Linked DNA regions of Homo sapiens: all the other regions are linked to region 1. Evidence: promoter capture Hi-C in 16 types of primary human blood cells and fetal thymus (Javierre and others, 2016). All regions are on one chromosome and are shown on one strand. Each heading gives the region's core, a stretch centred on a gene start or on the middle of the fragment in contact. The rest is flanking DNA. Distances are from core to core; before and after follow the strand shown.

Region 1 (5,352 bases), core at 1,604-4,103:
AGGTGTGAGCCACTGTGCCTGGTGATGAATTGCTGTTACCATTCTAAGCTAAAACAGTACTTCATCTTAGGGAGAAACATTCTGAATCAATGGCAAAATGACTGAGAGGGAGTTATGTAATCCTATCTCCACAAGAACGAGATCTGTTTCCTTTGAACCATATTCAGAGATATCTGATTGCAATCAAGGCAGCCATGTTTTATAATGACCCTACAAATTGCAGAATCACAAATCTATATTGTTAATCAAATCTGCTGGAGAATTCTAAATAGATCTTGATATGGTTTCGCTCTGTATCCCCACCCAAATCTCATGTTGAGTTGTTATTCCCAATGTTGGGGGAGGGACTGGGTGGGAGGTGAATGGATCATGGGGGTGGATTATGGTTTAAAAGTGTGGCACTTCCCCCTTCACTCTCACTTTCTCATTCTCTCTGTCTCTTTCTCTTCTGCTACCACGTAAAGACACGCTTCCTTCCCTTTCGCTCTTCTGACATGACTGTAAGTTTCTTGAGGCATCCCAGGCGTGCTTCCTGTACAGGTTGTGGAACTGTGAGTCAATTAAACTTTTCTTTATAAATCACCCAGTCTCAGGTAGTTCTTTATAGCAGTGTGCGAAAAAACTAATACAGATCTGGTAAATTTTTCCCCAACTTTCAACTCTTATTCAGCTAGCAGTAATAGTGCCAGGAAATGCCAACATGTTAACCCCAAAATCATCTGGACTAACTTGTCTAGAGATGGTAACATAAGCATTGTTTAAAAAAAATGGAAATTACTGTTGCATACCTTAATTGACATGTGAAGGTATAGGGAGAGAATATTTGTAGTGTATGCAATGATAAAGGGAATAAATTGAGCAGACTTGCCATATTTACTGAAAAAGAAGACAATAAATCATTTCACTAGCAGTTAACATACAGCTGGTTTATACTGTTTCATTAGCAGCATGAATTATATGAAAGAAAACATGCTAAGCAGCATGCATGGTAGAACATAAAAAGCTTTGAACTTAGACCTAAGTGCAACTTCAAACCCCAGTTTTGGCATTTAGACTGAATTATGTGGGCAAGTTATTTACATTTTCTGAGTCTCAATTTCCTTATCTGCAAAATGGCTATGTGTGTATTAAATGAGCCAATTCATAGAAAATGTCTAGCCAATGCCTCGATACATGAGGTGCTAACAATGCTATTTTCCTTTTCTTTCTTAGGCTCTTTGAGTGAAGGATACTACAGGGAGAAATAAAAAAGTCAATTAGACACTGACACTGTCTTCATAGAACCAACAGGATGTTGAAAATACTAAAAGCAAATAAGCTTTAAATGGCTGGGATGGTAGATTGCAATACTGGCCACGACACTTGCAGCTTCTCACATGAAGAGGTGGAATCTCTTTCTCTGTCTCTTGCATGTGGGCTGTCCTTGCCATTTGCTTTGACCAACAGGACATAGTGGACATTATACTGTGATAGGTTGAGCCTGAACTTCAAGAGGCCTTCAGATATCAATGTACTGCTCTTGGGAACCCACCACCACCATGTGAACCAGCCCAGCCTGCTGGAGGATGAGAGACCACATGAGCAAAGAGCAGTAATTCTAACTGAGACCACCTTAGTCCAGTCAGCACCAGCCAACACAGCAGCTGAACACAGAGCATGAGTCAGTTCACTTAAGACCAGAAGAACTGCCTAACAGAATTGTGGGCTAAACAAATGGTTGCTGTTTTAAGCCACTAAATCTGAGGGAGAGGGTTAGCTATGCAACAGATAACATGAAGAGATATAGGGTCATGACATTTTTCAATCAAAACACAAAATTATGGGAACAATAGTTTCAAAAGAGTTTTGGGAATGATTAGTCATCAATTCCAATAGAACGATGTGGTATAACAATTGCTACTGCATTAGATTAATGAAAGACGCAAATCTCAGGGTTTCATGTGCAAATGATTCTCTTGGTAGCTGGAGGTAGAGAGATTAATTTTTCCCAGGTAATGTTATTCTGAGGTTTCTATGCTTTTGGAGTTCAGAAATTGTTGTTATGCATTATACATGGCAAAAGAAGAAAAAGATGGCAAGGGAAGAAAAGCCGAACAAATTAGATGTTGAAAATAAAATACCTGTAAAAGCAATTTGGGACAATGTCAGGGAGTTTTATACTGCAGGTAGCAAAAAGCAAAGCCTGGGTAACTCATCTCTTTCCCATGTCAGTCATCCATTGCAGAAAAAGGATCCTGGCCTTTACTTAACCTTGTTTCCCCCCTTCTTTACCAAGTAGAGCACACCATGAAAGCGATTAAATATAATTTTAAAATTGTGTCATATTGGTTTCTGTTTATGCAGCAGACAACTAAGTGTGACTTTGAAGGAAATAATTTGAGATATATGAAGGAAAAATCACCATGCAGCTGAAAAGTGCTTCTCTTAAATATGGGCTAAATTCTGTGATTTGTGTAATGGTTAATTTTGTGCTTATTTTGTGCGAATTTTGGACGTCACCCACAGGTTATTTCTGAAAACTATGAAGTCTGAAGAATGAGGAAGGTGCCTTTTGTTCCCCTCAGTGCCAATCAATACTGTAACTGAGGTGGGCTGGGGTGGTAAAACTTACAGACAAACAGTAAGTTCTTTGGGGTGACAGTTGTCACGCCTCCTCCCTGCCTTCTAAATGCCCAGAAACATGCTAGCTCTGAGTAGCAGCCCTCAAATACCTTCTGATATGAATTGAAATCCAGTGGAGGGCTTATTCAAGTTCTAAGAATGAGCCGCTATGGAGCACACACATAAACCTCACAATGGTGGGTGGGACACACCTGATACACTTCTTAGGACAGAAAGGACTATGGCTGACAGTGAAAGTGGAAAAGAAACAGTGGGAGGAATGAGAGGCAAGAAGCAGCGGGTAGCACTTTTCTCGGTATCAAAGAGACGTGAAACTAGGGTAAGGACAGAAAACTCACTCCTGGCATTCCTCAGCCAATCCTTGCTTTCCTCTTCTATTTCTTAGTATAGAATTGCTAGTGAGGATACGAGTTAATGGCTAAGGAAGATACTTTGCATTGGTCCAGAAGAGCAGATTATAAAAACTCAGATTTGGAAGAAAATTTCTTAGAGGTTTTCTGGTTTGATCTCCTTAAGCTTCCAGAAATTCCTGACTGTTGATCATCCAACTTTGATTTGAATGCTTCCAATTATGGAATCCACTCAATTGCTGTGGAGTCTCTAAGTGCTAAGCTGCCATTATATTGAACTAAATATTGGTATCACACACCTTTTAGTTCTGCTTCTGCCCTTTGAAGCAACCAAGAACATATCTTCAACCTCTTGAAAAGCTGAAGAGGGGCCATACATTGTACAAGAAAGAGAGCTGCGTTAGAAGTTATGACACTTTGGTTTTGCAACTGACTAGTTCATGTCCTGCTCCCTCAATTTATTTATTTATTTATTTTCGAGATGGAGTCTTGCTCTTGTCGCCCAGGCTGGAGTGCAAGGGTGCAATCTCAGCTCACTGCAACCTCCTCTTCCTGGATTCAAGTGATTCTCCTGCCTCAGCCTCCTGAGTAGCTGGGATTACAGGTGCCCGCCACCACGCCTGGCTAATTTTTGTATTTTTAGTAGAGACAGGGTTTCACCATGTTGACCAGGCTGGTCTCGAACTCCTGACCTCAGGTGATCCATCCCCCTCAGCCTCCCAAAGTGCTGGGATTACAGGCATGAACCATCGCACCTGGCCTCCTCATTTTATTTAACTTGTTGCTGCAGTAATCACATACTCAATATTTTGTTAATATTCCTTTTGAGAGTCTGCACTAAGAGTGGAATATAATTGCGTAGCTATAGGTTGAGGCCAGGATTTTTTTTTTTTTTTGAGATATAATACAAAGGATACTGGACATAAAATGGTTAGACCAGAAGTTATAAACCCATGTCGTTAAAGGCAGGTAGGTAACGGAGAGGTCGAAAGGAATGGGGAATTGGTGGTTTGGGTTCCTGGAAAGACAATAGGGACTGGTTGAAATCTGCAATTTAAAAGACATAATCTATCTGAAGGCATTTGTGGTAGCCTGACTCTAACATGGTCCCCAGTGGCCCTCATCTCCTGGTATTACCCCCCTGTATAGTCCCTGCCTACACTGTACAGGGTTGGTCTTTGTGACCACTTACACATGAAAGAAGCGATGGCATAACACTTCTGAGCTTATGTCATAAAAGACTGCAGCTTCTCTCTGCGTACTCTCTCAGCTCTCTCTGGGGGAAGCCAGCTGCATGTCATATGGACATTCAGGCAACCTAGGGTGTGAATAATGTGGCAAGGAAATAAAAGGCCTGCTAGCAAATGCTCAGTTGAGCTTGGTAATGGGTCCTCTCCCAGCATCTCCAGCCAAGAGCTTGACTGCAACCTCATATGAGATTTTGAGCCATAACCATTCAGCTAAACTGCTTCTGGATACCTGACCATAGAAACTGTGAGATTATAAGTATGTGTTATTTCAAACCACTAAATTGAGGGTAATTTGCTATGTAACAATAGATAACTAATACAGCATTCAGATTCATTTTAAAGTATCAATGTGGACATGCACACACACTTTGCTGATGAAACAAAATATAGGGCTCCAGTTTATAACCCTGGGTTTCTCAATGAAACCTGGATCTACAGAAGCCAAAAGGTATGGTTAAGGCAGCACTCGAAGGTCATTTGGCAGCTCAGTTTCTGCTGGAAGGGAGGAGATGAAATCCATTCAGAGCTCAAGCAGGAAGCTATTTTATCCACCAACAGAAACAGAATATAATTTTCCTTATCACTGTAGAGTAACAACAAACCATGGGACAGAACCTAGAGAAATCTGACAGAAATCCTGTTCTATAATACAAAGAGCACTTGGATTAGAGTAGAAAGCCAGGTGGAACTTCAGTCTTATCAAAATAGAAAAGCATTTCCCCGTCACTAAAAACTAAGAACAAGCATTTCACAAAAAGTAATGGAAGAAGCAACCTGTTATGGTCTGAATGTTTGTGTCCCCCCAGAATTTATATGTTAAATCCCTAACCCTCAAAGTGATAGTATTAAGAGGTGGGGGCTCTGGGAGATGGTTAGGCTATGAGGGCAGAGCCCTAATAAATGGGATTAGTGCCCTCATAAAGAGACCCAAGAGGAACCTCGCCCTTTCCATCACGTGGAAGTGGGCCCTCTCCAGACACAGAATCTTCCAGCACCATGATCTTGGACTTCCAGCTTCCAGAACTGTGAGAAGTAAATATTTGTTGTTTATAGGCTGCCTAGTTTATGGTATGTTTTTTATAGCAGTCCAAACAAACTAAGACACAACTCTTCTCAGAAATCCAAGAAAT
Region 2 (5,352 bases), core at 1,667-4,166, 490 kb after region 1:
TATGTAATTTGATATGAAACTATCTGATATCCAAATATGTATGTGTCCATAACAGAGTAAAATACATAATACCTTATCTTAATTTTTCTCCTAGAACAGTTTCTCTAATAAATATTTAAAAATAGTTGTCTTGAAAAATATTAAAATGTTACTTTACTTTGATAAATGAGTATCCTTAGCAAGAGAATTAACTATTTTTATATCCACATTTAACAACATGAATTAGTATTTAGCACACATTTGGACTGACAAAATAACATGCTATATTTGCAAAGATGTTATTCAGAGATTGGCATTCATGCAGTAATTTCAAATAAATATTTTTAATGAACGGTATAATGACCACAACTATACAATAATGTCATTGGTAAAAATCACCAAAATATAGTAAGAATTTTAAAAGGCATTTTTAGCTTCCTCTTTTGGGTATCAACCATTATCTTCTCTCTGAATAATACTGAAAGAAAATTTACATCTATGCAACAAATTTCACAATTAGAAATGGAGATAAAATTACATAAGCAGACACTAATGGAAAATCTATTAAAACAAAGGAGGATCTTTAAAGCCAAAACTTGAAGCACTCAGGAAAGAAAGAATCATTGAGTGTATCTAAGACAAGCAGTAAATGGCATGCTCCACTGATTCTGACAACCTGCAGGTTGATTATGAAACACCATCACAAAGGCTTCAAGACATGGAAAAATTCAGAAAATGTGGCAAGTGAAACATATTATAACGAAAATCCAAGGGAGAGGTCTCTTTTTTAAAAAAAAATGAAAGCCACTCTTATGGAATAAACAAACTATAGTAAGCAATTGCTACCATAATTCTTACAATCTCTGAATACCTGTGATTGTCTGTGAATAAATGGTACCAACTGAAATAGGGAATTCATCACAGAATGCTGTAAACAGCATTTGGGTGCACGGCTTTATATACGTATATATAAATTCACATAATCCTCAGTGTGATATAGTTCTAACCACTCTCATTTTCTAGATGGGAAAACTGGGGCCTGAAGTTTCCTTGTCTAAGATCATACTTAGAGCCTCTTGTGAGGCTGAATTGAACTCAGTCCTTTGACTAGGATTGGGTGTTCTTTCCTCACTAGCACAGTGCCTCTCCTCAGGGTTGAAACAGGATACAGGAATACAGCTCTTTTGACATTCACAAGTATGCCTTCTACCTCTCCAAAAGCCCACGAGAAATCCCACTGGCAACGGTGAGGAGAGAAAAAGGCTGTGATATGGATCAGAAAAAGTCTTACAGATCCAAGGATATTCAGGTTAGATAAGAAAGGGAACAGTACAAAGCCAGAGTGACCCCCAGTTCAATCCTGCTCAATTCTAGGGAATTACCACCAAGCAATTCTGGCTTTTTGTGGGAGAAGGAAAGGGGAGGGAGGAAAAAGAGGGAGGAGAAAAGGTAAAGAGGGAGGGGGAAAAACCAGGAGAAAAGAAGAGGGAGAGAAAAATGAGAGTGGGACTCAAAATTGGAGAGAATGATTCAGAGGAATTAATATCTCACTCTAAGGAAGCACATAATTAAAATTTCTTCATCTTCTGAAACATCTAACTAAAAAAGACACAGGCTAGAAAGCCTCTTTCTCTCACTTTTTTTTTTTTTTTTTGCTTCTGCCTCAAGCACTTTTAAAGTTGCCTACACATTACAGAATGTTTTGCTTGATTTCCTTTCAATGTCCCGGAGAATATTTGGAATGTTTCTTAATTTACATATGATGTGGTGTTATTTAGATATAGATCCCATGAAAGATAAAAATTTTTTAAAGTGAGTGTAAGTGTGAGCATTGAGACAGGAGAAGGAGGTAATTAAAAGAGATAAATAAAGCTTATAAAAGCCGCTTCTTACCCTAACCACCGTCATCAAAAAAGAAATCTGTAATTCATGAATAAAATATAATCTGAGTTTTACAACAGCATTATAAAGATTCTTTTTGAGTATAAGTTTTAAAAGTGTTATTGTGTTATAAAATTTAATGGGAAATTTTTCTTTCCCTTAAAAATAAACCCAAATACCACAGACATTTCCCAAAAATTCCAGCTGTCTGCTTGCTCTCCTTGAGTTATTCTATTTTCCTCCATTAGTAGTTTAAAGGTGTACTCTTTGATATGTAATATCATTTTAAGGAGTTCAACAGAATTAAGATTGTTCCAGTATACTCAGCCGTTTATTTTCACAAAATTGAGGTACACATTGCAAAATTAGAGTGTTTTCATTGGAAAACTTTCATTACTAGTTAAAAACTGTCATCTCAACGAAATAATAGACTTCTAAATCGAAGGAGATTTTTGTCCAACAATTTAACAAGTATACTAGTGTATGCATGAATGTGAAATTTTGGAAGGGCCAGGCATAGAAGGAAATAATTTCTAATTTGTCATAAAGTCCAAGAGTATTTCTAGTAAAAATATTTTTACAATTCTACCACACCCCATGTATTGCATTTTTTCTGCTATGTTGTTTTTTCCACTGAAGGAGTCATAGCCCAAGTACATTTCTTTGTAATTACAGAGTATCTATCTATGCATCCATCTGTCCATCCTTTCATTCACTCAGTTCAACTAAAAGAGTCTTCATTTTGTATCTACCAGCTGTCTGGACCTGTTAGGCACTAGGGAAAAGAGATGGATAAAGTACTGCTCCTACACTTAGGGACTTCACAGATGAGATTAAAAGGTAATCAGGTAATTATAATACCATAAGGGGGTAGCTATGTTAAATATATGAACAAATATATAAGAACAAGATAGGAAGAAGGCAGAAATCTCCCCTCATACTTTACCTCCACACAGAAGGTACAATTTATCATTTACAAAACAGTTTACAAAATATTATCTCCTGCATTTGGCCTCTGTTCCTATTCCTTCCCACCTGCCCTCTTAAAATAGGCTGACCCTTTGCAACCTTAATCGACCCAATTTAAACACGACCCCCTCTGACCATCCTCTCCTCCATGGATTAGTTACTGCACATTTCATTCTCATGGCATCTCTAGGTTGATGCACACTGTTTTTCCTGAGTGTTCTCCCTTTAGACTAAAACCACGTGAAGGCTAGGAATATTTCTTTCTTCTTTGTATCACCAGTGCTAACCATGTAAATGTGTGAGGAATGACAAAAAGGAAGAAAATACTTACAAGTAAACAAGACCCTATACTAATACATTTCACTGTGCCCTTCCATATACATATATCCTACCCACTCCCCCACTACTAAGAACTATTCTTTTCTTTCTTGTAAAAAGGTATGCATTTAAAATAGTTTCGCTTTTAAATGGATTTTTCCCCAGAGGGCAAACCACTCATTTACTCTCCTGGCAGAGGAAAACAGTAAAGTGTCAAGATGTCTAAGCCAGTTTGAAAATATTTTGGAATTTCTGTGTTTTTCCCCTTCTTTTTTACATAGCTATATAAATGTGCACCTATTCTGAAAGTCAGCTTGAAGCACACATTTCAAGGTATTTGAAATAGTTTTCTTTCCGTTTTTCTTTTTGCATTTCATTTGACTAAGCAGTTGTCTAAAATGTGATATAACCAGAATGTACCTATTTATATTGGTTACTTCAAAATGCATGTCTATGAGTCACTGTTTTTATACACTTTAGCTAGTCAGCCAGTTCAAAGAAAAGAAAATAGGGGAAATTATTAGAATAACAATTACTAGTTGAATGACCTAATACAGATTAAATTATAAGAAACAAGACAGGAAAAGGAAACTTAGTTTATATCTCACATAAGTGCATTTTAATTATTCCATCAAACCAATAACTATATAAACATAATTTCAGAAAAATGGAAGGTTGAGTTTAACATTATAAAACAGTCATTAGCTGTGTAAATAATGAGTAAAAATATGTAATGGTCAGAAAAAACATAGCACTTGCAATGAGAGACTGTTTGTATTAAATATATTTGGATGTGTCAGTTGCTGCAATATTTATTCAAGGAACCAAGCTTCTGGGATTTCATTTCTATTTGCCACCAGGTGAATAAAATGTGTTAAGTTCATGTTGTCTGTGACCTTTTACTAAAAATGTTATTCCTTAGTCATATTCTGCATTGGTGGTCAGGGTTGGATGCCAAGAATTTGCTTGTCATCTGACTGAGTTTCCTTTTCACGTGTAATGCTTCATCTGAATTACACCATCCTAAATGATTGTACAAGCTGAAGAATTTTCTATGTCCAGTAGTTTTATTCTTTAAAGAAGCATTCAAGAACCATTACAAAACAAATAAAGCAAAGATAGATTCTGTATATTCTGGTCATTTGTGTGCCAAGATTGATGGTGGTTAGTAGAGTATGTAAATCAATGAATTTAGGAAGTCTCACTGAGTTGTACAAACTCTTTACTGGGTCCGTAGCTCCATTTTCAGAGTCCTGTGTGTTTTCACAGAAACTGCACCATTAGTTATCTTCACTGGAGGATTTGACCAAATTTATCTAAGGTAATGTGCCTATACACGAGTTTCCTAACTAAGGTTCTTAAACCCCTTGGTTTATGAACTTGTGGAAATTTATGTAATCATGCATATGTGCACATACACGTGCATGTCTGTTTAAGGACATGCTTCACAGGTTTTTAAAATACGTAGAGATTCTGAAAGAGGCTGTGATCCAAAACTGTTTAGAACCTTAGCTTCGCATCAACAGTATTGGCCAGGGACTCCTGACATATTTGCCACCAGTGTTCTTAGAAGCCCTCTACTGCTGTCCATAGATGCACAGTTGCACATCTGCGAGCAGGACAAAGCCTGTGCTCAAACACAGCCATCTCCAGGCTTCGTGCATTTGTTTGGTCACATGAAGTGGTACCCTGACTCTATCAAAAGCTAATTTCACTCATTTGAGTAATACGACTAAGCACACAATAAAACTGAGGATCTCTGAACTAAAACTGGGTCCTGACCCGTATCATCCAGTTTGGTAGATTAACTGAACATAACCACCTTGAGTATAACCAGCCACATGTCCCTTCTTTGGAATGTGTCTCCACATAAACACACGTAGGCTTTTCTTTTTTTTTCTTCTGAGATATTTCAAACAGAAGACCTCTGAGAATTAAAAAAAAAAAAAAAATGAAGGCCCATGTATTCATCTCCCATTTTGCTATATTTCTGCAGGCTTAGGTTTTAAAAAAATTTAAATATTCACATACAGTAGAAACTCCTGCATATGCCTCCTTAATATCATTTTCCTCTCTTTTTCCCCCTCCATATTTAAAAGCTATCCTAGTATCTACCAAGTCTAAACATTAAAAAAAAATCTATACAACATATGTATGCTGGTCTAAGTAATATAAAAGTATTGGTTGCCATGTTTTAAAATATTG
Region 3 (5,352 bases), core at 1,086-3,585, 460 kb after region 1:
GGAGGTCACTCCAGGAAATCCTCAAGTCCTGGGGAACTCCAGGATTTTTCCAGTTCCCCCTCAGGGAAGAACTCATTTGATTCTCCAAGGCAACCCAGGAGCAAATCTAGGATAGGGCTAGAGAATCCTCAAGGGAAAATTTAAATAATTTAGACTGACTCCATATTCTATAAGTCAGAAAGGGGCACTGAAGATATTGAAAGGGAATGGTTCACAGGTTTATCCCATGAAAACTCTATCACATCTTCTGAATGTCCTGGGATCACAGCATGATGATGATAAGCTGTGGGGATAAGCTTAAAGGGGCAACTGTGAAGGCGCAAGATCCGGAACAAAAGCTGGCAAAACAGGTTTACTTAGGGCATGCATGCAGAGGCTGCATCTTTTGGGCCACATAAGTCATATTATCATCAATATTATGGATTTGAAGCATCTATGGTTTTAATGTCAAACATTAATTATCCATCCTTGACTAGTTCAAAGAGAGAGACTTTGGATCTGGGTTTGAATTTCAGTTCTGTTACTTATTAGCTAGCTGACACAAGGAAAAGTCACTTCATTCTTCAGTGGCATACTTCTCTTGCCTGTAAAATAGAGATAATAAAACTTATCCAGGAGGGTTGTGATGCTAAGAGGTAACGTGTAGATGCAAAGAGCCCAACAGAGAATAATTACTCAATGAATAAAAGCTATTATTATCTCTTATCATCATTGTTATTGTTATCATAATAGTAGTTACAAACTAGCATCATCACACAGCAAGCCCCCGTTGCTTTATTCTCACATACACAGAAAGCCCCCATTGCTTTCTTCTCACGTCCTCAATGTTGTAACTTCCAAACATGCAGGATCTGCGTGCTCTATAAGAGAGCTCCAATAAATGCACAGCTCACTCAACTTGTGTCCTGGTTTACAGAAGTAAGTAACAGGAGAAGCAGGGCTTTCATAGCCCTTCCACACTTTTTTACTCAAGTGCTTTGGTATACAATTAGTAAGCAGTGTTTCCAGCAGCTTCTGATTTGCAGTAAGTAATTGCAGTCTAGTGCTCTTTCTTCTGTTGCCACTTGCTAAACACCCACTTAAAAGTATCAGATCACAAAACTCCCTACAAATTGAAATTTATGTTTCCTTTTGGGTTATTTAGGACTAATCCAACAAAGCCAATGAGGAAACATAATGCTAATTTATACTTTTAGTTTCATAGCACTACCTTGGTTATTTTTATACTTAATTGAAAGGGGATATTTCCTCTTATATTTTTGTAAATGTGGATTTTGGGGGGAGTTCTAGACAATGAATTTACACTAGCAAATGCTAGGCAAAGTAATGAGAAGCAAAATTAACTTACTGAAGCATTTTAACGAGTAAAAAAATGGTTATCTATTGCCTAAATAAGTCAAGGTTTTTCTTTCTGAAGGTATCTTCATTTCATTGGCTGTGATTTTGTTTAATTTGAGAGAGAAGGCAAGAGTGTTATCATTCTCCAGTTGGAAACTAGCATGGATGGTATTCCTGCTCCTACTCTTCAGAATTTTAGTATAAACAAAATAAGCTGATCCAAACACACATTAACTGATTGGTGGATAAACAAACTGTGGTATATCCACACAACTGAATATTATTTAGCAGTAAAAAGAAATGAAATATTCATACATGCTACACCATGAATGTACCTTGAAAACATTAAGTGAAAGAAAAGGCACAAAGGGCCACATATTACATGATTCCATTTATACCAAATGTCCAGAATAGGCAAATACATAGAGATAAAAAATGGATAGAAGGTTACCTAGGAAAGGGGTGGTGGTAGGGGATGGAGAGTACTGCTTATGGACAAGGAGGCTTCTTTTTTAGAATAATAAAAATATTTCGGAATCCCATAGTGATAATGGTTGTTTAGCTCTGTGGATATCCTAAAACCCACTGAATTTTATACTTTTTAAAATTTTTTTTATTTTTGAGATGGAGCCTTGCTCTGTCACCCAGCCCAGGCTGGAGTGCAGTGGCACGATCTTGGCTCACTGCAACCTCTGTCTCCTGTGTTCAAGCTATTCTCCTGCCTCAGCCTCCCGAGTAGCTGGGATTGCAGGCATGCACTACTACATCCAGCTAATTTTTGTAATTTTAGTAGAGACAGGGTTTCATCATGTTGCCCAGGCTGGTCTCGAACTCCTGACCTAGGGCGATCTGCCCACCTCAGCCTCCCAAAGTGGGGATTACAGACGTGAGCCACCATGCCTGGCTGACTTTCATACTTTATTATTTTTATTTTATTATTATTATACTTTAAGTTTTAGGGTGCATGTGTACAATGTGCAGGTTAGTTACATGTGTATACATGTGCCATGCTGGTGTGCTGCACCCATTAACTCATCATTTAGCATTAGGTATATCTCCTAAAACTATCCCTCTCCCCTCCCCCCACCCCACAACAGTCCCCAGAGTGTGATGTTCCCCTTCCTGTGTCCATGTGTTCTCATTGTTCAATTCCCACCTATGAGTGAGAATATGCGGTGTTTGGTTTTTTGTTCTTGCGATACTTTACTGAGAATGATGATTTCCAATTTCATCCATGTCCATGCAAAGGACATGAACTCATCATTTTTTATGGCTGTATAGTATTCCATGGTGTATATGTGCCACATTTTCTTAATCCAGTCTATCTTTGTTGGACATTTGGGTTGGTTCCAAGTCTTTGCTATTGTGAATAGTGTCGCAATAAACATACGTGTGCATGTGTCTTTATAGCAGCATGATTTATAGTCCTTTGGGTATATACCCTGTAATGGGATGGCTGACTTTCATACTTTAAAAGAGTGAATTGTATGGTAGCTGAATTAAAATTCAATTTTCTACCTAGAAAATTCTTGCCTGTCATCATCATCATTTCCCAAAACAAACATTCTCTGCAAGTTTACCTTGTGAGGTTCAGTGAATTCTTGAGTGACACTGCATTAGCAAAACAAGTTTTGAAGTCCTTGTTTATAAATCTCAACTTGGTTTCCATAGTTTCATAAACAAAATACTCTGCCAATTTTATATTTTGAAAAAATTGCTTTGAAGATTCTTTCATTTTATTGGCTTTTCTAATAAGATAAAAGAAGTGCTTCATGTCTTTTATTTTTATTTTAGTTTTTGGAAAGAAGTTGAGTCAAAACGGGATTAAGAATTCTATTGTATGGCTTCTTGAAAGCAGCAGAAAATCAAATATGGAACATACCCAAAGTGGGAAAGAAATAATTACTTAATTCAGCACATTAATAAAAAAGATCTTACAAATTAAATGTTGTTCCAAAGACATCTTAAACACCTACTACAGCATCATACACATTTATTGAGAAAATGCCAAGTTTTATATTATGGTATTCTAGCAACTCAATGCAATAAAAATTTCCAGAAAAACAAATGGAATAATGTAATTTTTATAAAAAATACGATACATATGACCAGTGTTACTTTTTTTTATTTTTTTGTTATGCATTTGGAAATGCCACTAATGCAAGGTTTTATTTAATAATTGAATAATAATGTAGGGTAATGTGGTGTTGAAGAGAACAAGCCCTGGGGTCTATCTGATTTGAATCCTGATTCCTCTATTTATGGCCTGGAGAAAGTTTCTTGATCTTTCTAGGCTTCAATTTTCTCCATCTGTAAAATGAGGATATGGTGTAGGGTTGTGAGAATTCAATGTAATAATGCACTTAAAGTGTTTAATATGATGTTTGGCACATGGTGAGCTGAAAGCATTATTATTATCATCATCTTTTTCTTAGCATTGCTTAATGTCCTTTTATAGGATTATTTCTTCTCCTAGCAATACTTCTGAGAGAGTCAATAGATTTCAGCTAGAGAAGCAAGGTCACAAACCAATTCAGCCCTACAGTGAGATACTTTTCATTTGTTTCTCTCAAAATATTCAAGTTGTAATTCCAAGAAACCATTCATCCTTTATGCTAACAGGCCTCTAACCACAATTTAATAAAATTTCTTTTTTTCCATAAACAAAGCCAAACATAATATCTTGTTCATCTGATTATAAGCAGAATAGCTGCTATCTGAACACTGCTGTATCACAGACAATAATGGCAGTAATTACTAGCCACCGCACCCCCAATCACCTAAGACATGTGGTATCCATCAGTGTAACAAAAAATGAAAAGAGGCAAACAAGTCTGCTCACTCAACTTTGTATGTTGATATTTGATTTATAGTTCAATAGAGTTACATCTATTCTATAAGTAATTCCTAGGTACTTAGTATGTTTTGAACATGGTGGATGCCTAGAATAAATTTCTCATTCAGTTGAATTCCTTAGTATTGTGTTAGGTGTCACAGATACAAACTAAAGTTAAACTTTACCTTACCTAAAGCTTAAAACCTTATTCTGAGGCATATTGTATTCAGAATTAAAAATAGTCAAGTTCTTCAATTACAAGATAAGATTTAGTAAAGGCAAGGCAAGCATGAGTAAAATGTTAATACCAGATACATTTATTCTCTGTGACAGCAGACACTGATAACATTTCAAGGTAAATTTAAATAACTTAGAAAAGTTCATGGTATGGCCAACTGTGATGATAATCTTTACTGCAAGATCCCTGGGGCAAAAAGTTATTTTATGTCATTCTAATATAAGTACTCCCATTTCTGAGGTTCCCAAATTGTCTAGAAACTATCCCATCTGCACCATTCCCTAAAGATAATCAATCTCACCAGGTGATCTTAAACCCAAAGGCTGGTGCTGGTGTTTCTGGAGGACAGTATCTGAAAAGCCCAGAGTTTCTTACCCCAGTAACTGATGTAGCTGATGTGAGTAAGTCCTGGCTTGCCTGACCACATGTCAACACGGAGGAGCAGGGTAGTAGAGGCTTCAGAGAGTAGTACGCCATGCGGTTTTGGTTGACCCACTGAGAGGGAAACAAGGTAAACTGAGACTATAATTACTGAACTAATTTGCTTTGGTGGCCTAAGAAGATAAGTCTTCAAAAAAATTCAAAACTTGTTATAGAAACATACATACATACATATACCCCAAATCAAACCAAAAACAAAGCTGAAAAAAGTACTAACTAAAAATATCAATTATACCTAAGAATTAAAGACTCCTGTTATCCAAAAACACTGCTTTGGAGTTATGCCAGCAAGCACCCTTAACATTTGGTCCTATGTTACAGCAGCCTTTTTTGAAGGAAAATACAATGAAGAATCTTGACACATTGATTTCAACTCCACATAAAAATATTTTTAATCAGCATTTTATATGCCCAGATTTTAAAGAAAATGTCAAATGTATGGAAAAAAGCAAAAATAGATATAAACAAGGAGAAGTGACAGCATTTTTAAAAAGCAATG
Region 4 (5,352 bases), core at 910-3,409, 450 kb after region 1:
AGCCTGGGAGGCGGAGGTTACCGGTGAGCCAAGATCACGCCATTGCACTCCAACCTGGGCAACAAGAGTGAAACTCTGTCTCAAAAAGAAAAAAAAAAGTCTAAATACATTCATTTTTACTGGTGCTTTACCTATTTGGGTTTTAAAATAAAGAATAACTTTATTCTGAAGCTACTGACTTGATTACTTGAGTAGAAATCAATTACAAACATCAACGGACACACTTTTATTATTTATTTGTTTATTTTTGTAGAGAAAGGGTCTCACTATGCTGCCCAGGCTGGTATTGAACTAGTGGACTCAAGTAATCCTCCCACCTCAGCCTCCCAAAGTACTGGGATTACAGGCATGAGCCACCGTCCCCAGTTGATACACTTTGAAAAGGTATTTTGTTTAACCAAGAACTTCCTTAGTAAAAATTGTATATGTTTAAGGTATATAAATTGATATTTAGATCTATGTATACATTGTGAAATAATCGCCATAATCAAGCTAATTAACATATCCATTTACCAATTACACCTCAATAAAGCTGAAAAAAGGAACCCTTTTAATAAAACAATATAACAGGTGAAATAGTTAAAAATGTAAACATCCACATAAAACTGCAGTAACTAAACTCATGTCCTAAGTAATTTATTTTATTGTAATTCTCTTGACTTTCATTACCAAATATTTCTTCATCACTCCTGCCTTGCTTATTTTTCACAGAAACCTAAGGAATTATATCCTAATTTCTTCTAAATTTTCTCATTCTGAAATTCATCTTGGATTACAGTTTGTTTTACCACCATCAGCTGCTTTCACTGTATATAGTTTAAGGTTTAAATCTAGAATTTAAGGTTTAAATCTAGGAATAAATCTAGAATTTGCATACCAGATTTCAGAGAAGAAGCTGCTTGAAATAAAGTTGTGACCCACCATGAGTTATTGTGTCCTATAACTTCTATATGGCCCTTTCCTCTTCCCTTGCATCCCACTTGCTCCTTCCACAGTTCAATTGGTACCCAGAAGTGCATAATTGGTAAGATTAGGATAAATGAACATGGGGAATGACCAGTAAAAACAACCATCCTATCTGAGCTACAAAATCAATCCTCACTGAAGTACCGTTTCACAGGGAAAAGATCGCTCAATGATTCTTGAGGAGAATGAAATCACAAAACTAAACTCTATTTGACTTTAATGAACATCTGATTTATAGCTTAACAGTTTTACAGAATGAGTTAAAAGAATTTTACCTCAACTTCACGGTGATGAACATGACAAGATATGAAATTAAAGAATGATACCGCGATTGACCTCAAATAAATATCAGACTTTGTAAGGGGTAGCAGTAAACTGATTATCTTCATCTTTGATAGAGTTTTATCACTAGAGCTACTAATATGTGGCACTGAAGTGTCAACCATTATTTAGTGCTAAAATTACTACTATCACTATATATATTTCTTCTTTATGCAAGATATGTATTCTTGAAGCTTTGAAAAAATAAATTTCATATAGTAAGCCATATTTAAGATACTGGGAGTGTTCCTATGCAAAGGTGTTTCCAATTATAAATCCAAGTATGCCTCTATTTAAAAAAATCCCCAGCTTACTATATATTTTTAAGTCTATGTTTTAATATGCAAGATTTTCTTAAAGCAGATAACCTATAAATAACACTAATTTATGGAGTTCTTTGATTGTGGCCCACTAAGAGATAAAGAGTTGCCACTCAGCATCACACAAAAATGTTGGAGAAAAATTGCAAAATAGATCTTGCCCATTTATTAACCTGCATCTTTTTTGAAAATGTCTTATTATTCTTCTGTAATTATCTCATGCAAGCCTAATACACTCATTTAAAAAGGAAACAGATTGTGTAAAAATTATGATGAATAGGAGAAAACATCTTGCTTCATAAAGTGCCTAATATTAAAAATTTTTTCACACCCGTATTTTATCAAGTATTGTTTGTAGATTTATATGTGGTTAATAGTTTGACAATTTTTCTGATTACCATAATTCATTTTATTAAAATGCTATTTTCACTGCTGTATAATATTCCACTGTTTGCCCATGTTACTAATGAGGGCCTCTTAAATTACTTCCAGGTTTTCATGATTAAAACCATTGCTGCGAACAACCTTTTAGATATCTTTGTGCACATGTGTAAGAGTTTCTCATGCGGAGAAGTGAAATTGCTGGGTCACAGGATATACATTCTCCCAAATTTACTTGTTTTTTCCAAATTGGTCTACTAGATATTTGTACCTTCTTACCAGCAATTTAATAGCCACATTCTCTTCTCATGTTAAAATAAACTAAAACTGCATGCATCAATATGGCTGAATCTCTCAAAACATTACTTTTGGCTCACTTTTAAAAAAATTGTTACCTTTTCTTTATTTTTTATTTTTTAGAGACAGAGACTTGCTATGTTGCCCAGGCTGGCCTTGAGCTTCTGGGCACAAGCTATCCTCCCATCTTAGCTTCCTGAATAGCTGGGATTAGATACATGAGCCACCTCGCCCAGCTCTTGAAAACCTTATTTTTGAATGAAACAATTTAAGTACAAGTTTAAATCTTCCCAAAACAAGTGTATGTGTGTATATGTGTATGTTTGCACATATATATTTATATAAAATCATACATAATATTTATAATCCAATATACGTAATATTATATATTATAAACACAGTCATGCATAGCTAAATGGCATGTATATGTTCTGAGAAGTGTTGTTACATGATTTTTGTCATTGTGTGAACATTTAAAGATAATAACATTCAGAGAGGAAAAGAGGTGAATGGGATGGAGAGGTGGGGTTTCAGCAACCTCTGTAAGCTTTGTTTTGTTGTAAGAAAATTTGAAGGAAATGTGACAAGATGGTGGAACCATTTTATATAAGAGGAAAGTACGGGAATATTTATTGTTTTCTGTACTTTTCAGTAAGCTTAAAAAATCATAAAGAAAAAATAGAAATAAAAATGTTATTGAGTTTAGGTAAAAACTAAGGTCCTTTTGAAACAGCATTGAAGTCATGAAATATAGACACACAATGCTATGTTTTACAACAACGGTCATTTATGTGTACAAATATCTTGACGGCAGTTGTCCTAGAATATATATAGAGAGGTATATGTACAATGCAGCACTAACCGTAATAGCAAAGACATAGAATTGACCTAGGTGCCCATCATTGGTGGACTGGATAAAGAAAATGTGGTATATGTATATATATCATGGAATGCTACACAGCCATAAAAATGAATGAAACCATATCCTTTGCAGCAATATAGATGCAGCTGGAGGCCATTATCCTAAGTGAATTAACTCAGAAATAAAAAACCAATACCACAAAAGCTCTCCGTGAGACTTATAAGTGGGAGCTAAACATTGGGTACTGATGGCCATAAAGATGGCATCAACAGTCATAGGGAACTAATAGAGCGGGGAAAGGTTTTAAAACTGTTGGGTACTATGCTCAGTACCTGGGTGGTGGAATTATTTGCATCCCAAACTTCAGCATCATGCAATATACTCATGTAACAAAGTCACATATGTATGTCCTGCATCTAAAAGAAAAGTTGAAATTATTTTAAAAAAAGGTGTAGTTCCAGTATCGTGACAATAACACATTTCTTGAGGTAGTCTGTCCAGGTATTCTTACCTTGGGTCCTCACTGCCATTCTATGAAGTAGTCAGGGTGGCACAACCACCTTTATCTTATAGATGAGGAAATTCTGGCTCAGTGAGCTTCATTGACTTGCCCACCATCAGCTATAGAGTTTATATGGGCCCAGGTCAACACTAGAGGCCAGAACTCCTACCCAGGCCAATGTTTTTTCTCCTAACTCTGTCACATAACCCCTCTGCATCTCTCAATCCATGAGAAGAAAGGACAGGCACAAAGTAAGGATGCATCTCTTACATATCAAGCCTTCAGACCAAAATAACAGAAACCATCCATTATCTAGCTAGTTTATCTGCAGACCAAGTCTTCCTGCCCAGCCACAGGGGGGCACAACTTTATGCAAGGCCTCTCTGAGGGCCCCTTCTAAGGGTCACAGATGTTGTATATTTCTTGTGCTGCTATTCCTCACAGAAATGATAAATTGTGAAATATGGAAGAGAGTAATTACTAGAAAAAAAAGGATCCATATTTTACATGATCAAAAAATGTATAATTTCTTACTACATTCTCAGTGACCCTGTAGCTTAAAACAGGGTGGGCTGGAATGGGACTGTCCTAGTTTTTACTTGACAGAAGACAGCTGGCATTCATGTGTAATGGCCCATAGGAAAAAATTAAATCTAAAACTTTAAGTTAATCAGTGTTCTCCAAAATTCAGTGAAAAATAAATAAAAGAGAAATATGGGATTCTGACACCTTCAGAAACTAAACATCTGAAGCTGTAAATTTCTTTCTTTACTCTAGCAGTTCTACTTTCAAAACTGTGAGCCAACTGTGAAATAACTGGTTTTGGGAAGAATTAAAAGATAAGTCTTAGAAACAGCTAATATAAGTGTCTCTCTCCAAATTAAATCAGTGGGGTGCTAGTTTTAATGCCTCTTCTTATTAGCTCATAATTAGGATTCTGTATAAGCAATTACAATATTCACCTCTCCGGAATAGTTTTAGGTGGAGTTTTGACCTATGGTGGTACAATTTAAACAACCAGTAATAGCTAGTCCTACAATTCTATGATTAGGGCTTCCTTTACTGGGCCCTAACATTTATTTCATTTTCCTGCAATCTTACCCTTTTTTTCCTCCAGAGAAAAACTTTTACTCCCTTGCCCTGCTAAAGAATCCTGAATCCCATCACTAACAGCTTTGTTATGTTTTGTTTTCTAACAAAGAAGACCTTATGAAGTGAACCTACCAGCGCTAAGGTTCAAATGGCCTAATTGCCAAATCCACTTTTTCAAGTCTCATCCTACAGCCCTAACAGGATTTGGCACTCCTTATCAACTCTTCTCTCTTAAAATCTCTCCACATCTTGCTCCCAAACACACTCTCCTGATTATCTTCTAACTCTCTAAACACTCCTTCCAAGTCTCGTGTGCACGTTTCTCCTCTTTTTCATATTCATATATGCTTTTAATGATTCCTTCCTTCTTCCTGCTTGTCTTCTTATTCCACATGCTTCCTTTGGGTTCTCCCACCCATTTCCTATGGCTTTAATTATTATCTATAAGTTAGTAACACATAAATCTATACTTCAAAGTTAGTCTTTTTCCTGAAAACTTAAGCCCAATCCATTCTCTATATTGCTATTAGAAATATTCTTTTTAAAAAATAATCCATTTCCCAACAATTTACAGAAAATAAATTATAAAAATAATTCCACCTCCTCATTCC
Region 5 (5,352 bases), core at 1,798-4,297, 430 kb after region 1:
TTATGATAAACAACATAAATAATCAAGATGAGCAATGACATTTGAGTTAAGAACAAGATGCAACTATAACATATTAGGAATTTTTATGTGGCTTCATAACTTGATTACAAAGGCAAATTGTGGAAGAGGAACTCTATAATATTATCACTGGCATAAGTAGAAAGCTTATTAGAGTGATTATTGTTAAGATCAACAGTAAAAAGTATAACATAAGTATCAATCACAAACATTTGAATTTTGATATACATAACAAAGGAAAATTATTATATGTAGATATTTCTTAAAAGATGAAAAATGGAGATTATATTATTCAGATTTTGTAAAATAATTATCCTAGTTAGTATCGGAATATCATTAGAATTTCATAGCATTGAATTTCTCTAATTATCATTAAAATACCATAGTATAAAACCAAATATTATCTTAAGATACTTTATAAGTGTCATGTTTTAAATGATTTTCCTTTTTAAAATTTAGAGGCATCCATATTTCTAGGTAAATTACATGTCCATCTTTTTTGTTTCAGTGAGCGACCAAGGAGGCTCACTATTTATGAAGGCATGAGCTGACTTCAGAAAACTTTAGAATTGGCTCCTTCTGCTCATTCCTGTATTTTCACCCTGTGCTTCGTGATCTTGTCTGAATTTCTGTACCAAGAAAGTCTTTGTAATAACCCAGGGCAAACATTTTTATTGAGAGCCTAAAGCATAACAAGGCTCTGTAACTGTGCCTAGCAGCCAAAGTTTGCAAGGTAAAACCCAGATTCCCTTAGGGATTTGGCCGAGGATTTGGGCTTGGTTATACTGTGAATGCACTCAGGTATGTAACCGTGGCCATTCTGTGTGCTACAAACGCTGAGTGAGTTCTTCAGTGATCTCACCAGCAGGTACAGGGACTGGAATTACTCCTCATCCTGCAATTACTTGCCTGAAATTGGCCAGGCTACGGATAAATAACACTCTCACTTACCTCTGTCAAATTAAATAAATATTCACTAATAAATAGTTTGCATGCACTTCTTTATAATACAACATTTAAACACCAATTTTGGTCCCAATTGAAAGACAATTTATGACAGGAACAAATACTATGTTATTTAGCTTAACTGTATAATTTTAGAATTCTTGCCTACATTAAAAAAATCTCATCCAGTTTACAAAAAACAATTGGCTCACAGAAGCTATATATTTATTTTTGTTTGCCCATTTCCTTTATTATCTCCTGTTAGAAACAATTTCTAGCATTAATTTGTTTATTCTAAATATGATGAGAAAAATCCATCAGATTTATTTTCCAGACTCGCTGGTGCCCATGAATATGATCTTCAAGATATTAAGAGGAAATCAAGTTTTTGCTATTTTTGAACTGCCTTGACATTAGCAGTTATCATTTAGAAACTGACAGAAATTAGCCAGTATATGAAGGAGTTCTGACATGTATCAGCTGACAATTAAACTGGTCAGATGGTCATCAGTGAAAGCACTTTAGCTATCAAACAATACCCAAGGTAACTATCCATACTCATGATAAAAAGATATTTTCATGTCCTTTTGTAACCCACACAATATTAAGCATGAATTATATAAGCAACTGTTCCTAAGCCATATCAGAGAGAAAAGGAAAAGCAGAGTATTTAACAATATTGCATGGGATGTGTTATAAAGGCTTTTTTTTTTCAGTTTAGTGGAGGATCCATTTCCATCTTGAACTCCAAAGATGGTATGAGCCTTTCTACCAAAAGGGTTATGACAAGCTCCTCCATTGCTACAGATCAGAGACAAGAACTTTACAAATAAAGAACAAAGCAGGTATTGCAGCATTGCACAATGATGGGCAATGCTTTAGAGAGCATAAAGTATGGAATCTAGGAAATTCTTACAAACATAGCAGTTGATATGAACTTAATACCTAAGATAGTTAATTAGGTAGAGATTAAGACTTAGTAAGAAGAGGCCTTCAACAACAAATGGACTCACTAGGAACATATGTCTCTATGTTGCTCAGAATCTGCTCCACAGCAGTTGTAATTGTTCTTACAGAGAAATAAATGAAGTCTGTGTAATGGGTAAGGACACATAGGTGAGCTAACATTTGAGTTGAGATTCAAAGAATGAATGGCATTTTATCTTGCACGTAGGGGAAAGGGAAACTCATTCCAGTTAGGGAAATGAGATGAAAAAGGCATAACTCCGGATGGAAGTGCATAACTCTCTCAACACAACACAGGATCCAGGTAGACTGTATTTAGGATTTTGGAAATGATACGGGATGAAGCTAGAAAGGCAAGAGAGTCTGCACTTAAAGGTCTGGGAATATCATCTTAAGTGGTTAAGTTTTACTCTACTGTAAAGGAGAAGCCTGAGAAGGGCAGTGACATAAGCCTGTCTAGTCTCCATGCCCCTCTCTAAGACAAAGAACCCTCTGTGGGCTTCAAGCACTTATTCCTTTAGCCTAGAATAGATGCATAAAAGGAACTTAACTGATGTTCTCTTGTTGGTTAATGAAGATTTGTATCAGTTTCTTATTTTAGCAAATCTTGGCTGACAATATGGAATATTGACTGGAGAAGAGAGAGGCCAGAGGCACCAGAACTATTAGGAGATCACTGCAACTGCTGGGAAAACGCAAATCATTCTATGAACCAAGATGATTTGGAAGGTGGATATGAAAAAAAATTGTAGAAGCCAAATTAATAGAATTTGGTGATTGGTTGGACTTCTGATGAAGGTAGAAAATTTTTGTAACTCAGATGAACAGGTTGATGGGATGGTGATGCTTCTCTCAAAGATAGGAAAAGCCTTTCAGAGGCGAACTTATGACGGCTGGGGAAGGGTGGTGCAGGAAGAAAAGGAAAGAGTCACGTTTGGGACGCCTGGAGTTCAAAATGCCTGTTTGGCTTTCATGTGGAAACATCCGAAATGGGGCTGGGGCTTAAAAGTCAGCCAGAGATGTTAGCAAGCCAAGATGTTTGCTTGGATTTCAAATGTGTAACCTGATATTAGGAATTGCATCTCTGACTAAGCTGCAAACCCAACCAGCATTTTTATATCTACCTCCTGCCGTGCGACTTTAAGCATGTATTCATTTATTTATTATGTACATATTACTGAGCACCTAAAATACATCAGGCACAGTTTTGGGTCTGGGAATGCAGCAAACAGGAGAGAGAAAGTTTTTGTTGCCACGTAGATTATCTTCCAAGGGAAGACTGACCAAAACTAAGTAACTAATAAACATCTATTTTTAGAAGGTATATACAGGTGGTGATATAAAATTGTTTTACTGCTCATCTGAATCTTAATTATGACTCAAATTATGTGGTTATGCATGAAGTTAATAAAGTTTTTCTTATGCAGAAGTATAAGGGAGTACAGAGTGAAGTAACAGGAGGAGGTAGTAAAGCAAAAAATTATTGAGCTTTCATCCAGAGAGGATACTCCAAGTGAGCTTGTCAAGAAAACCTATTGGTGTTCTATTAGTTGCTGACATTTTTCCCCAACTGTCATTATGGTCATAATTTAATACAAAGAATGATGATGTTATCGTATATCCACCCAGGCTGAGAATGTGTCAGAGATGTGCTTTCAAAGGTAGTTCCAAGCGGCTATTAACTGAGGTAAATCTTACACAAAATAAATTAAATCTTATTAGATTCAAAGATTGACAACAGTGACAAACAGATTTAAGTATTTTAAAGCTGGTCTTGCTTTTAGGATTCGGAAGTGTTCATTCATATGCTAGGCTTGCTGCTGCATGCTACTCACTTCAGAGTGTATATTCTCTTTCCTTCTTGAAGCGCCTTCTTCCCCTGGCTTCTTAAACCTTGGACTCTATGAATTTCTGTCTGTGACAATTCCTTTGCTATTTCTTTGTAAGTTCATTCTCTTCTTCCAAGCCTATAAATGTAGGTGTTCCCCAGGGTTTTATTCTAGATCTGTTTCTCATTTTATGTCAAACTCTTTCCTAGGTAATCTATCCATTCTTCATTCATTCATTCATTCCTAAAACAAACATGTATTCAGTACCTCCTGTATACCAGCACTGTTCCATGCATTTGAATACATCAGTGAACAAAACAGATAAAATCCCTGTCCACAGAGAACTGAAACTGTAGCATATTTTGATTACTACACATATGCTTTGACCTCCAAGTTTATATTTCCAGTCCATCTGTTCTCTGAGCTCCAGATTCATTCACTGACTGATTCTCCACTTGGATGTTTCAGAAGCATCTCAAATTCAGCATGGCCAAAATGGAACTGTCAAGTTGGGGATAAAATTGTGAGTCCAGTGTTTTCCACTTCTAAAATGGCACCAACTTCCTTCCATCTGAAAAACCCAGAAATGTAGAAGAAATCCTTGTCCCAACAAATTCATTCTTAAAGATCAATCCGCTTCTCTCCAACTCCACTGTCACCTTCCCAAATCTAGCGTAATTTATCACCTGGGACCTTTGGATAGGTCTCCCTGCACCTACACTTTCCCTACTCCAATTCTCCACAGTCAGATGATTTTAAAAATGCAGATCAAATCATGTCAGCCCTTTAGGATAAAGGCCAAAATCCTTCGCAGAGTCCACCAGACCTTGTATGATTTGGCTTCCCTCTACCTCTCTCATCTCCCCAGGCACCACTCTCATGTGTCATCTCTAGCTTCGGCTTTCTTTCAGATTCTCAAATGCACCAAGTGCTTTTCACATGTTGTTCCTTTATGCTTCTTTTCAAGGGGTTAACTCTTTTTTATCAGTCTGCTACTGCTGCCATAACAAAATGGCACAGACTGGGTAGCTTAAACAACAGAAATTTAATTTCTCACATTTCTGAAGGCTGGGAGTCCAAGATCATGGTGTTGGCAGGGTTGGTTTCTCCTGAGGCCTCTCTGCTTGGTTTGTAAATGGCTACTTCTTGCTGTGTACTCACATGGTCTTTTCTCTGTGTACATTTATTCTTAATGTCTCTTCTTCTGATAAGGAGGACACCAGTCCTATTGGATTAAGGCCCCACTCTTACAACCTCATTTTACCTTAGTTACTTCTTTAAAGTCCCTATTTCCAAACACAGTCACATGGGGAATTAATTTCCACATATTTGCTAATTTTCCATGATCCTTTCTCTTATTGATTTCTAGCTTCCTACTACTATGGTCAGAAAAGATATTCAATATGATTTGGATCTTAATTTTGATCTTGTTTTGTGGCCTAACCTAGTATCTGTTCTGCAGAATGCTCTGTGTATACTTCAGAAGAATGTATATCCTGTTGCTGTTGGGTAGAATGTTCTGTATATGTCTGTTAGGTCCATTTGGCCCAAAGTATAATTCAAGTCCAATGTTTCCTTATTGACTTTATGTCTG

Evidence for each region. Contacts are between HindIII fragments. The CHiCAGO score rates a contact against its expected background, and 5 or more counts as called.
Region 2: a fragment that was not itself captured here is called in contact with the fragment with the promoter of KCNQ5-AS1 in region 1 in 10 of 17 cell types (M2 macrophages, M0 macrophages, erythroblasts and 7 more); the score reaches 9.9 in M2 macrophages.
Region 3: a fragment that was not itself captured here is called in contact with the fragment with the promoter of KCNQ5-AS1 in region 1 in 3 of 17 cell types (M2 macrophages, erythroblasts and M1 macrophages); the score reaches 6.2 in M2 macrophages.
Region 4: a contact is called between a fragment that was not itself captured here and the fragment with the promoter of KCNQ5-AS1 in region 1, in 1 of 17 cell types (naive CD4 T cells). The highest score is 5.5, in naive CD4 T cells.
Region 5: a contact is called between a fragment that was not itself captured here and the fragment with the promoter of KCNQ5-AS1 in region 1, in 1 of 17 cell types (M2 macrophages). The highest score is 5.3, in M2 macrophages.

The regions. Positions count from the first base shown.
Region 1 is chr6:73,141,015-73,146,366 of GRCh38, reverse strand. KCNQ5-AS1 (KCNQ5 antisense RNA 1) reads left to right here and starts at 2,853. Exons shown (of 5, transcript NR_046621.1): 1 at 2,853-2,941. The region is part of intron 10 of KCNQ5 (potassium voltage-gated channel subfamily Q member 5); the gene reads right to left. The HindIII fragment of the contact is 1,820 bases long and covers 1,321-3,140 here.
Region 2 is chr6:72,648,522-72,653,873 of GRCh38, reverse strand. The region is part of intron 1 of KCNQ5 (potassium voltage-gated channel subfamily Q member 5); the gene reads right to left. All of the region lies in intron 2 of KCNQ5-IT1 (KCNQ5 intronic transcript 1), which reads right to left. Among named protein-coding and RNA genes, the nearest start is that of KCNQ5-IT1, 21 kb to the right of the region's middle. The HindIII fragment of the contact is 2,125 bases long and covers 1,854-3,978 here.
Region 3 is chr6:72,676,650-72,682,001 of GRCh38, reverse strand. All of the region lies in intron 1 of KCNQ5 (potassium voltage-gated channel subfamily Q member 5), which reads right to left. It overlaps KCNQ5-IT1 (KCNQ5 intronic transcript 1), which reads right to left. Exons shown (of 4, transcript NR_120503.1): 3 at 4,788-4,907; 4 at 3,444-3,648. Among named protein-coding and RNA genes, the nearest start is that of KCNQ5-IT1, 49 kb to the right of the region's middle. The HindIII fragment of the contact is 4,074 bases long and covers 299-4,372 here.
Region 4 is chr6:72,692,950-72,698,301 of GRCh38, reverse strand. All of the region lies in intron 1 of KCNQ5 (potassium voltage-gated channel subfamily Q member 5), which reads right to left. Among named protein-coding and RNA genes, the nearest start is that of KCNQ5-IT1, 65 kb to the right of the region's middle. The HindIII fragment of the contact is 1,351 bases long and covers 1,484-2,834 here.
Region 5 is chr6:72,710,786-72,716,137 of GRCh38, reverse strand. All of the region lies in intron 1 of KCNQ5 (potassium voltage-gated channel subfamily Q member 5), which reads right to left. Among named protein-coding and RNA genes, the nearest start is that of KCNQ5-IT1, 83 kb to the right of the region's middle. The HindIII fragment of the contact is 5,761 bases long and covers 167-5,352 here.